Regions from separate parts of the Homo sapiens genome. Here region 2 is linked to region 1. Evidence: promoter capture Hi-C in 16 types of primary human blood cells and fetal thymus (Javierre and others, 2016). All regions are on one chromosome and are shown on one strand. The core of a region is centred on a gene start or on the middle of the fragment in contact, and the rest is flanking DNA. Distances in the headings are between cores, read along the strand shown. Region 1 holds the start of LARP4B (La ribonucleoprotein 4B). Region 2 overlaps GDI2 (GDP dissociation inhibitor 2).

Region 1 (6,170 bases), core at 2,238-4,737:
GCCTCAGGAAAGAAAAAAAAAAAAAAACTTGTACCTTTAACACTAGGATAAAAACAAATGAAATCGATTGATGGTAACACATCTATACAGCTTTTTTACAACTTTGAGAGGCCCTAACATAGACAACACGTTACTAAGATTAGAAGACCTAGATTATAATCCTAGCTATCACTATTTTGACGGAAAATATGAATTTTAACATGACAATGAAATAACAGTGAAAGGAGTTTGTCAGCCACTCCTTGGCTGGTAACATCTACCATAGCCTATCACTACAAAAACTTGCAAATCTATGTAGAGTAGCTGCAGCTACCTGAAGGCACTGTTCATTGTAAACACCATTAACAATTTGATGTCCCAATTTGCATGTTTTGGGGGTGGGGGGAGACAAGGTCTCACTGTTGTCCAGGATGGAGTGCAGTGGCAGGATCATGGCTCACTGCAGCCTCAACCTCCCAAGCTCAAGCGATCTTCCCACTTCAGCTTCTCCAACAGCTGGACTACAGGTGTGAGCCACCATGCCTGGCTAATTTTTTGATTTTTTGGTAGAGATGAGGTCTCTCTATGTTGCCCAGGCTGGTGAACTCCTGGGCTCCTAAACTCACCTAGGCCTCCCAAAGTGCTGGGATTACAGGAATGAGCCACCTCACCCAGCCTGCACGTATTTTAGAACTACATTTTAAGATAATGTGAAGACTGCTTCATAAAAACACCTTAAATATATACTTGTCAAAACTTGTGCTTACTTATGGAAATTGCATTAAATTCAATAAATTCTTTAAATCTCACTTTTAAAAATGGCAATCTTCCCGAACATTAAACCAAATTACATTTCTCCCTGAATTTGCTGCCACTTAATTTCAGCTACTCTTCTACAGAATAGTACCCATGTTATCTTTTTTTCTGTCTGGTTCCTACTCAAAAAGAGTGGAACTGCTTTCTCCAAATATGCATTCTGTGCTCAGAAGCTGTTTTCTCTGCCCAGATACATGTGTAAACAAGCCAAAAAAAACAAAACAAAAAAACAAAAACAAAAACAAAACTTTCTGCTAATAGATTGACAGCTACAAGGTAGAATATTTTAAAAATTCAGTAAGCTGGGCGCAGTGGCTCACTCCTGTAATCCCAACACTTTGAGAGGCCAAGGCAGGTGGATCACTTGAGGCCAGGAGTTCGAGACCAGCCTGGGCAACATGCTGAAACCCCGTCTCTACTAAAAATACAAAAATTAGCCAGGTGTGGTGGCATGTGCCTGTAAATCCCAGCTACTCGGGGGGCTGAGGCAGGAGAATAACTTGAAGACCTAGGAGGTGGAGGTTGTAGTGAGTTGAGATCGTGTCACTGCACTCCATCCTGGGTGACAGAACAAGACTCCAACTCGGGGGGGGAAGAAAAAAATCAGTAATAGTGAAAATAGCAAAACCAGACAACATTTCCATGTTTGTGTTACAACAGTCCTAAGAAAATGAGATTATCATCATCCCCCTGTTACAATTGAGAAAATGTAGGCAACACGAGGGTAACTTCTAATGAATAAGCCATGCCTTTGTTTCATATAAATAAGTCAACTCAACTCACATTAACTTTTCAAAATACCGGATAAAATTTATTTCTAACCAATGCAAGTTTCAAAGATAAGTACACAAATTAAATTTATGATTAAATAATAAGCTTGTTAATCTGATGCCTTTCGGAACGCATTTCACTTAGCAAACCTCAATTAAGCTATTTCTTATATGGTTTGATTACAAAACTGCCTTTCAGCATATTAAATACAAGGAGAAAAAACTGAAAAGCCACAACGATTTCAACTTCTGTAAATTACCCTGACTGTAATGAGGGGCGCCAGGCAGGTTGGGGAAGTATGGAAATTGCACACTGCACACACCACCTGACCACCAAGAAAAAAGAGGACACCACTCTTCCCCACTGTGGTCTTCACAAACTACAACTCAGCACCTATTTCAAGTGCATTTAAATATTCAAACAACTGAAACTAAGAGAAAAAAACTTTCGAAAGGGAAAATAACTTGTCTGTCCCCTTCAATGTTCACCTTGGAGTTGCTCTCATCTCTAGAAAAAGGCCTCACGCATACTGTTTATACTTACAAACTCCACTGCCCTGTCAAGGAAAACCTTCCTGTTTTCTCAGTTATCCAAAACTTCAAACTTCCAATTTACTATTAAGACAAGTTATTGGGCATCCACTTAGAGAATCTCAAACGAAAGCCAGATAGGAGGTAGTTTTCTACAGCTAGGTTTCTCAAGTTTCATCTCAGCCAAGTTTTAAGAACGTTTTACGTAAAAATAAGGGGAAAAGCAAAATTACATTCGCATGAAGTTTCGACGCACAACGGCACTGAAACGGAAAGACTCTTCACGTTCCCAAGCGCACCCTGAGAGGCAGGTGCAGCAGCTTTCCGATGGCTTCTCTGCCGCCCATGTATCCCAGCCCCAAGACCAACACAGGCAATCTTCACATCTGACTTTATTTTTTTAACTCCTTCAGATCCACCTCTGCTCAAGTCTATCAACAGGAAAACAGGAGCGTTCCAAACACACACCGAGCAACAGGATCCCAACTTCCTGGTTCTAAAGGAATGCGATGCCCTGATGACCCGTCCCGCCCCGCACCCGCACGGCCGCCTATCCGGGCTCCGGCGGGACCGAGGAGCGAGTGGCAAGGCTGGCGCCGCACTGCGGGTGCCGGCGCCCGCCCGGCCTGGGGGCGCTCGCGGCCCGCGACCCCGGCCCCGCCCAGGCCCTGCCCGACCCCCGTCCTCGCCGGCCTTCGCCCAACCCCGGCCTCCCGACCCTGACCCCGGCCCGGTCTTCCGGGCACCCAGCTCCGTCGACTCCCGCCTCGCCTCAACGGGTCCTCCTAAGCCCCGGCCCCGGCCTTCCCCTGCCCCGGCCTCGGCCATCCTCAGCCCCAGTTTTCCCCTGCCCCGGCCCCGGTCCTCCTCAGCCCCGGCTTTTTCCTGGCCCTGACCCCGGTCCTCCTCAGCCCTGGCCCTTCCCGTGCCCTAGCCCCGGTCCTCCTCAACCCGGCCCCGGCCTTCCCCTGCCCCGGCCCCGGCCCCGGCCCAGGCCCGGCCCTGCCCGCCGCGGCCGCGTCCTCCGGGAAGATGGCGGCGCAGTGACAGGCGGCGCGGCGCGGGTCCGAGCTGGGCCGGGAGGGACGGCCCGCCGCGGCCCAGGGTGCCTCACCTGTCAGCGCCGCCGCCCCGCCCGACCGGCCGCCCGCGGGCTCCTCGCCTCAACCCCGGGGCCCGGCGGCCGCGCCACACGCGGGGACGGCGAGGAGAGAGACGGCAGGGAGAGGCGGCGCGGCCGGGCCGGGCCGGGCCGGAGGTAGGGGAGAGGGCGGGCGCGAGCTGGCGGCGGCGGCGGCGGCGGATTCTTCCCCTTTCGGGCCCGAAAATGTCTCAACCCCGGGACTCCAGATCCCCAACGCTCCTTCCCGTTCGCATGAGAACACACAGCTCCCACTTCCGGGGCCCTGCGGAAGTCCCGCCCCCGCGCGGACCCGCGCCTCGCGCCCTGAACTCGCGCACTCACCCGCCGGTCCCGCGGACTGGCGCTCAGCCCCGGGAGAGCCTCACGTCATGGTGTTGCGGCGCGCTGATTGGGCGCACCCGACGCTCGGCCCGCCCCGCCGCCTTCTTGGCCTCTCCGCGCGTACACCCTGCTCGCGGCCTTGCGATTGGCGCGTGCGCGCACATCGCCCCGCCCCGCGCACGCCGCACGTCCGCCCCGCCCGCCCCGCCCGCCCCGCCCGCCGTCCCCGGCGCGACCGGAGCGCCTGACGCTGGGGGGCCGTGTGGGCCCTGACTTCCGGAGGGCTGGGCCCTGGTCCTCCGCCACCGCGTGCGCCCCTTAAAGACCCCTGCCCGCCGCCCAGGACGGATGGCGACCCCGGCCCTAGCCTGTCCCCAGACCCTGGACCAAGGCCCCGGCCCTGCCCCGAACCCCTCATCCCACCCCCAGGACCCAGGCCCCGACCCTGGCCACCCAGGACACGCCCTGGCCCTTCCCCGAACTCCCACCCCACAGCTGGGATCAAGGTCCCGGCCCTGCCCGGAACACCTCACCCCACACCCGGGACCCAGGCCCCGGCCCTGCCCCGAACTCCCACCCCACACCCGGGACCAAGGCCCCGGCCCTGCCCCGAACCCCTCACCCCACCCCCGGGACCAAGGCCCCGGCCCTGCCCAGAACTCCCACCCCACACCCGGGACCAAGGCCCCGGCCCTGCCCAGAACTCCCACCCCACACCCGGGACCAAGGCCCCGGCCCTGCCCCGAAGGCCCCACCGGGGACCCAGGCCCCGGCCCTGCCCCAAACTCCCACCCCACACCCGGGACCAAGGCCCCGGCCCTGCCCCGAACGCCCCACCCGGGACCCAGGCCCCGGCCCTGCCCCAAACTCCCACCCCACACCCGGGACCAAGGCCCCGGCACTGCCCCGAACGCCCCACCAGGGACCCAGGCCCCAGCCCTGTCCCGAACTCCCGCCCCACACCTGAGACGAAGGTCCCGGCCCCGAAGTCCCAACCCCACACCCGGGACCAAGGCCCCGGCACTGCCCCGAACCCCCGCCCCACACCCCTAACCAAGGCCTCGGCTCAGCCCCGGAATCCCCAACCCCACACCTGGGATCAAGGCCCCGGCCCTTCCCCAAACCCCCAACCCACACCCGGGACCAAAAGGCCCCGGCCCCACGTTTCCTAGAGGCGCTGGGTTCGGGCCCACGTTGCAACGAGTCAGATGCTCTTGGTAGCTCAGGGAGGTGTTCACACTCCTGCCGTTTCCGTGAGGATGGTGACGACTCCGAACTATAGCAGCATACTCTACCTACCCCTGATCAGTTTATGGAAGAAAAGGAAACCAAACAAAGTATGTTGCGTTTCCCTTAAGCTTGCTGCCTGATTTTCTGGTTTCTGCTCTGATTGGCTACATATACACATATTATCAATTATTCCAAATTTTAGGTTTGTTCCCCCATTAAAACGGCTTTTCAGGGATACCATATTCATGGTTAACCGTGTACCTGTGCTTACAACTGCTTTTTTAATTTTGTTTTTTGATACAGGGTCTTGCTCTATGCAGGTCTGCACTCTGAGCTCAGAGTGCTGTCTCGGGCCCCCAAAATCTGGGATTAGAGATGGGAGCCGGTGTACCCAGCCTGTGCTTATAATTTTTCGTACTCAGCGTTCAAATGCTGACAATTCTGCATTTTGGAAGAAAGCCTCTCCGGCTTCCCATAGTGGGTAGACTGTTGACATCAAGGTTGGGTGCCTTCTTTGTGAAACCTTGTTGCATCCTAGCTTTAAGGGAATTTGCAAGTTAAATAATTATATTCATAGTAATGTTTTTAAAGAACATTTAACGACATAAGACACATTTCCTTTAATATTAAAAGCATGTACATATTTCAGAAAACTTGCTTACCTGGACAACCTGCCCTGACCAGTAGGCCATAGTGTCCTTGCTTAGGTGCCTGGTTCCTTTACCTCCACGGATAACCTACAGGAGCTTACTCTTGGTTCATAACATTGCTAGGGCCATTGATGTGGTATAAGTCTAGGAATTCTGCCCCAAAATTGGTAGGTTAAACTTTTTTTTTTTTTTGAGACTGACTCTCCCTCTGTCACCCCGGCTGGAGTGCCGTGGCATAATCTCGGCTCACTGCAACCTCAGTCTCCCGGGTTCAAGTGATTCTCCTGCCTCAGCCTCCGGAGTAGCTGAGACTACAGCCGCATGCCACCACGCCCAGCTAATTTTTTGTATTTTTAGTAGAGATGGGGTTTCACCGTGTTAGCCAGAATGGTCTTGATCTCCTGACCTCGTGATCCGCCTGCCTCAGCCTCCCTAAGTGCTGGGATTACAGGCGTGAGCCACCGTTCCCGGCTGGTAGGTTAAACTTCAATCTTTTTTGTCTATGTCTACATTCCAGCAGACATCTATGTCTTACCTATTACAAAAGAAAGTAATGGGATGGGTTCAGTGGCTCATGCCTGTAATCCCAGCACTTTAGGAGGCCAAGGCAGGCAGATCGCCCAAGGCCAAGAGTTCAAGACCAGTCTGGGCAATATGTCAAAGCCCCATTTCTTTAAAAAATTATACAAAAGTAGCCGGGCATGTGGTGCATGGCTGTGGTTCCAGCTA
Region 2 (6,840 bases), core at 3,929-6,428, 4.9 Mb after region 1:
GTCCAGGACCAATTTCAAGAATTACTAAAGCTGTGTTTGCAAATTTTATTATATATAAGAATAACCTGGAGATCCTGTTAAACTGTAGATTCTGATTCTGTGTAATATCCGAGTTGGGGCCTAAACTTCCGCATTTCTGGTAAATTCTCAGGTGTTGCAGATGCAGCTGATCTATGCAGCACACTTTGGGTAACACAGCTGTAGACGATTCCACTGAATGACTATACCACAATTTACTTCTCCATTTTACTCCTGGTGGATATTTGGATAGTTTCCAGTTTTTCACTATTACAAATAATGCTCTATCAACATTCTCGCATGTGTCTTCTAAGTGTGCATTTCTGTTATATATCAAGAAGAGTATAAATACATTCAACTTCAACAGATATTACCAAACAGCTTTCCAAAAACGGTTGTACCAATTTACACTTTTGTCCGCAGTGAGTCCCCACTGTTTCAAATCCTTGACCACTTACACTGTTGCCTTTTTAATTTTAGCCATTCTAGTTAAGAAGTGATTTAATTTGCATTTCCTGAGGACAAATAAGGTTGAACACTTTTTAAATAGTTGATTAATGATTAGGGACCGGGCATGGTGGCTCATGCCTATAATCTCAGCCCTTTGGGAGGCCAAGGTGGGAGAATCGCTTAAGCCCAGGTAACACAGTGAGACCCCCATCTCTACAAAAGAAAATTTAAAAAAAAAAAAACAAAAAAACGTTTACTGATGATCAAGCTAAGTGATAAGGCACTTATGATAAGTGCCTATTCAAAATTTTTCCCCATTTTTTAAATGGGCTTTTTCTCGCTGCTTTATAAAAGTACTTTATATACTATATATAAATCCTTTATTAGTTACATGTACTGCAATTATCTTCTTCCATTCTGTGGCCTGCCTTTTCACTTTCTTCATTATGTCTTCATAAAAGGAAATGAAGGTATTTTAACAACTACAAAAATCAACCCTAATACTGACTAAAACAATTTACTTTTGGGGGGTGGGGGAAGAAAACAACCTAAAGCAGCACCAACATATAGTTCCACATATGAAAATAAAATATTTACTATCTTAAAAATAAGTTATGACACAGCAGAGGAAGACAGTTACATTCCCAGCTGACAAAAGTAGACTGCAGACTTTTGAAAGCAAAATCTCAGCAAGCAAATTGGAGTGTTGCACAGCTTCTATATATAACCTTTCACACTAAGCATGACCCACTGGACTATGGCCGTAAAGCAAGCACTGAGGCCTAAAATAAAGGGCCCAGTAATTTAAAGATGTGGCCGAGTCCAAAGAGCTGACAGCAACTACCTTCAAAGGCACCACTTGGAGCAAATATGACAAGAGCTAACTAAAGCTAATAAAAAATCTGCAGGCCCACTAGTTCCTCTATACCCAACTATTATAAAAGACTGCTTCCACACTGCTAAAAGAATATATAATAGCACAAACATAATAAGCTTTGTTTTAAAACATGGGTGAAGTCATTAATTGATAGAATTTATCAGTCATATCTGGGCACAGTATATATTAATGATCCTAAAATTTTAATATTTTTCCAAAATTACCAGCTCAAAATTAAATTCTACTACAACCTATCTGATGAATACACAATATTCACAAGCAAAGCACATTAAAGCCATAAAAACTAAGCTTCTCTTTTTCACACTAGAAAAGCTGGTCCATCTATCATGTACATCAAGTAACTTTAACCACGAAACTTGTATGTGAATGAATATTCACCAACATGAGTTGTAAATGTAACAGGTAAGAGTACCCACTGTAACTTCAAACTCACCTACAAATGACCTAAGCAGGATAAGAATACATATTCACATCCAAAATCACTAAGACTATAAAACCATCTTCAGAATCCAAGTTCTGTATGACACTAGCATCTGCCACCCACCTGGCACTTGACGTTCTCCTACATAAAAACAGGTAACCAACCAAAATGGTTTTTAATATTTAATTGCACCAAAGTGCTAGTACGTGTAGATATGTGGATGTGGGGCTGGGGGACAGAACCATCAGCGATACTGACGTTCTCTTCCTTCAGCACCCTACACATACCACCAGAGTTGCAATCATCAAAAACAGAATAACTCATTTGGACAACACCCAAATATATTAGACAAAGCACCTGAAGAGGCTGAATGAAATTTCTATATATGAATTGTTACACCTACATGGTGTTTCCACGGCCAGTAACAATGGTATGCTGAAAAATTAATGCCCACTCCCCAACCCCGATTACAGAGCAATTTAGACTTGGAAGGGAATAGAGCCAAAATTTATTAATATTTTGATATACCTTCCTAGTGACAAACTAAACTCTATACCCTGGCTGGGCAAGGTGGCTCACGCCTGTAATCCTAACACTTTGGGAGGACGAGGCAGAAGAACTGCTTGAGCCCAGGAGTTTGAGACCAGCCTGGACAACATGGCAAAACCCCATTTCTACAAAAAATACCCAAACTACATGCCTCCTGTAGTTCCAGCTAACTTGGGAAGCTGAAGTGGGAGGATCATTTGAGCCTGGAAGGTTGAGGCTACAGTGAGCTGTGATCACACAACTGCACTCCAGCCTGGGTAAGAGACCGAGACCCTGTCTCAAAAACAAACAAACAAAAAATCCTCTACACCCTATCAAATCCTACTGCATTTTAAAGTTCTGTTATGGGCTGGGTGCGGTGGCTCTCGCCTGTAATCCCAGCACTTTGGGAGGCTGAGGCAGGCAGATCACCTGAGGTCAGGAGTTCAAAACCAGCCTGGCCAACATGGTGAAACCCCATCGCTACTAAACATACAAAAAAATTAGCCGGGCGTGGTGGTGAGCACCTGTAATTCCAACCACTTGGGAGCCTGAGGCAGGAGAATTACTTGAACCGGGGAGGCAGAGGTTGTAGTGAGCTGAGATTGAACCACCGCACTCCAGCCTGGGTAACAGAGAGCTCTGTCTCAGAAATAAAAAGTATTGTTGTTATTAAAAAAAAAAAAAAAAAAAAACTACAAATACACACACACACACACACACACAAATGTGATCAGGAGTACAAAGTATCTAATAACTAATATTAAAGTGCCTTTTCAAAACTACTTACCTAGAAACATGAGAAATTAACCAGAAAAATTTTAAATCAGTTCATTTCAATGGCAAGTATCTTACAGCAACATAATAAAAATGGCTGTTTTATGAAGAATGTTTCTTTAAATGACTCTGCCCCTCTAATGCATCTCATTAAAAACTGTCAGCCAGGCGCGGTGGCTCATGCCTATAATCCCAGCACTTTGGGAGGCCTAGGCGGGTGGATCACCTGAGGTTAGGAGTTCGAGACCAGCCTGATCAATATGGTGAAACCCCATCTCTACTAAAAATACAAATATTAGCTGGGCATGGTGGCAGGCACCTGTAATCCCAGCTACCCGGGAGGCTGAGACAGGAGAACTGCTTGAACCTGGGAAGCAGAGGTTGCGGTGAGCCGAGATCACATCACTGTACTCCAGCCTGGGCAACAGAGTGAGACTCCATCTCAAAAAAAAACAAAAAAAAAAACTGTCAAAAGATACCTTCTCTTGAAATGTGGCTAATTATATCACTCTCCTGCTCAAAGTCCTCTCTCACTGCCTTGAAGATAATTTTCACATTTCTTAGCCTAGAATCTCTCTCCAAAGCTTCTGTTTCAAGCAAAACAAACCACTCCCCATTCCCTACATACATCCTTGACTTAGCATTGACTTACACTGACTGCTCTCTGCCTAAAAAATCATTCCTCCATTCAAACCTTGCCAATATTTTTTTAAAGCCAGCTAAATATCTCCTTCTTTACGAAGGTTTTCCTGATTCCCTGACTGAACTCATATAAGTGCACCTCTTAGGGGACTTAATGCTTTCTCATACTAATTCTTATTAGTTACTCTCCAACACGAGAACAAGCTACTTATAGACAGGTTCTGTGTTTACCTTTTTACTGCCCATAACTGATCACAATAGTCACTGGGTTTAAATAACTGAAACTGAAACTATTACTCCAGTAAGAGTCTCCAATCAGGTACCATGGGAGGGAAGACAGAGGTAATTGCAGTGTATCACGCATGTGAACATCTACCAGTGGTCTTTAAAAACCAATGTCACACTATTGTCATCTCTACATGCTAAAATATGTCTAATTTCACTTATATTTTCTTTTGGCCAGGATGCTTAACGCTGGTTTAAACTGCCTACAACACAGCTCCCAAGTGTAACAGCATTTGCAAATATTGATCCTATGCTCACTACTGTAGTGAATAGAAAGTCCTTTGTCTACAGAACTCTAACACAGCTATAAGCAAGAACTCTCAAAGAGCAAATCAAAGATTAAGCAAATCCAAGAGGCAATCTGAATTTTAGTTCAGAATTTTAAAATCAAGTATAAAACCTTCTCTGAATCTGAAATCACAAAATTCTGATAAAGAGAAATGAGGAAAAGTATCTGGGATGTAAAGCAAGTTTTTAAACATATGATGCTGAGAATCATCTGGTATACATCACTAAAGTATATATTTCTATTCATAAATTCTTACTGTGTAGAACAAAAAATGGGAAGAAAAAAACCTCTGGGAAGCACAAACAGCTGTGGAACTAGTTACTCTTATTGTTTTAATCTACTATGTCTAACAAGACTCGTGAATTTATTTCCAAGTCCATAGTGAACTATGTGCAAATTATGTGGTGAGAGGCTGCCTACACATGCTGAAAGCAGAGAAAAGTAAATGTTGCCAGCCTAACAGTAAAGTAAGATAGAGGGAAAAAATATGAAGAGTAAACTGAAGAGCTCAAAAAGCATAGCAGCCTGAGAGTAAAGGGGGCAAAAGTTCCTACAAAGCTGGCGGGGTCTTCATGGCTTCACCATGTTACAGCATAACACAATAGTTAATCTTCACTATGTGAAAACTTGGTTATCAAGTAAATTATGTTTCTTAGTTTGTTAAAGAAGTTGTGACAGCATTTAGAAAGGCATTATCCAAAAGCTGTGCTCTTTAGAGATAACCTTTAGTTCCTCAGAAAATTCAATTGTGTGGAATATTCCATTTCTTTTACACACAGAATGAAGATTTTACTCCTTTATACCAAATCGTTTTGTATCTTCTTGATTAAGATAACTATCAATATTTGTGATTATGAGCTTAGACTTAACAACTCATACAAACAATGGCAGCACTAAGCAACACAGCAACTCCAGCACTTCCTTACACTTCTTTAAAAGTAACAAGTTCCTAACACTGAAAGTACTTGCCTTTTTTTAGGTTCTTAAGTCTCAGGCACTAAAGTAAATTTTAAGAAAATTAATTAACTCCAGACATTCAAAAGTTAATTCTGAGTGCTAACTTTGGTTTTCTCTTCTTCTAATTTTTAATCATCTAATTCCTGGTAACACTAAAAATAAGGATATATGATTTCTCATTATCAAAATCATCCTGTCATCACTACTCCTATCAATGATGGTAATAATGTGATTGTCCTGAATTGATATAATTATCAAAGAACATCTCAGAAAACTTAGGAAGGCTCACAGAGATTAAAGTTATCACAGCTACAAAATGACAGCAGAAACAGGTCTGATTTCTAGTTAAGTATGCATCTACCATTCATCAAAGAGTTCACAATCCGAATGAAAATTTAAACAAAGCTCATTATCTTAACTTGTTATATAAAAACACTTTCACCATCTTTGATACAAAGTGATGTGAACGAGGCTTGTGGAAGCCTGCATGATGGTGGATTTGCACTCACTCGTGCATGCTTAACTGACCTCAATTGTGAGCAAATCTGAAAGACCAGCAACAACCATAGAAAAACGGTGGAACTAACCGGCTCTTAAAACACGCTGGCAGCAACACTACCCATTCCAACAGGCAAAATCCACCACAAACTACTAAGCTCAGCTTGGAATCCCAATTAGGCACTTAAAAAAAAAAAAAAAAAAGCACAAAACCTGCAGTGGGTAGGGCCTATTCATTTAGGCATCCAACAGTCTTCCAGCTTTTCAAAGACAGACACAGGATTATTCCTGGATTGGTCAAACATAACGAAGTATTCAGAATGAATATTCTCTAATAATTGCATATAACTATAAACAGAAAAATGACAGACCAGAAAAACACGATTCTAATTCTTCACAAACCTTTCCTAAAAAATTAGCCAAATAAAAGTTCGAAGGTTTTCTCTTGCCTAGAGACATCTAAAAGTGTTATTTTGGGATGTTACCTGTAAAAAAAAAAAAAAAAATTGGTTTGACCCTGAGAGATTATAATAAATTTCAAAAAATTTGAAGTGGAAGTCTACATTAAATGACTCAGGAATTTGAAGTCAGAGTACATAGGATACACAAGATTTACATCAGTATTCATCTTAATTATGATCAAGCAGCCCAAAGTTAGAATTTCAAATTTCCCCAAAAATTGATAGTTAAAATGGTTTTCTCCAAAGTGAATTCTTTTGCAAGATGAACATTTAAAAAAAAAAAAAAAAGAACAGAAAAAGTACAAACTACAGAACCTGCCTGCGTTATCTACAGATTACCTAAAGTTCCCTTAGAAACAGATAACCAGGAAAATCAATATACCATGATATTAGGTACACCTTGCATTCATATATTACAATGCATTCTTCATGTTATTATCTTCCAACTCCCTGAAGAAAGCTTCGGAGTACAGAGAACTTGGCTTTTAGCAATCCATCACCAACCCAATTCTTAGGGGAAAACAGTCCAGAAGAGACAAAGGAGGCAGAGAACCCACCAAACAAAAGGAAAAGGCGGCGAAGGTCAGGTGCGAAAGCATTTGACGGACAAGTTTTG

The links. Contacts are between HindIII fragments. The CHiCAGO score rates a contact against its expected background, and 5 or more counts as called.
Region 2: a fragment that was not itself captured here is called in contact with the fragment with the promoter of LARP4B in region 1 in 1 of 17 cell types (monocytes); the score reaches 10.7 in monocytes.

The regions. Positions count from the first base shown.
Region 1 is chr10:928,218-934,387 of GRCh38, forward strand. It overlaps LARP4B (La ribonucleoprotein 4B), which reads right to left and starts at 3,488. Exons shown (of 18, transcript NM_015155.3): 1 at 3,211-3,488. LOC124902363 (keratinocyte proline-rich protein-like) reads left to right here and starts at 3,774. Exons shown (of 2, transcript XM_047426111.1): 1 at 3,774-4,898. The coding sequence starts at 3,910. The coding sequence ends at 4,614. LARP4B-DT (LARP4B divergent transcript) reads left to right here and starts at 4,809. Exons shown (of 3, transcript NR_120629.1): 1 at 4,809-4,898. RefSeq lists silencers at 2,679-2,808, 2,899-2,978, 3,009-3,118, 3,189-3,898, 3,979-4,068. The HindIII fragment of the contact is 3,248 bases long and covers 1,670-4,917 here.
Region 2 is chr10:5,805,709-5,812,548 of GRCh38, forward strand. All of the region lies in intron 1 of GDI2 (GDP dissociation inhibitor 2), which reads right to left. LOC124902367 (a long non-coding RNA gene) reads right to left here. Exons shown (of 2, transcript XR_007062041.1): 1 at 6,607-6,840; 2 at 1-6,248. Among named protein-coding and RNA genes, the nearest start is that of GDI2, 4.3 kb to the right of the region's middle. The HindIII fragment of the contact is 3,008 bases long and covers 3,675-6,682 here.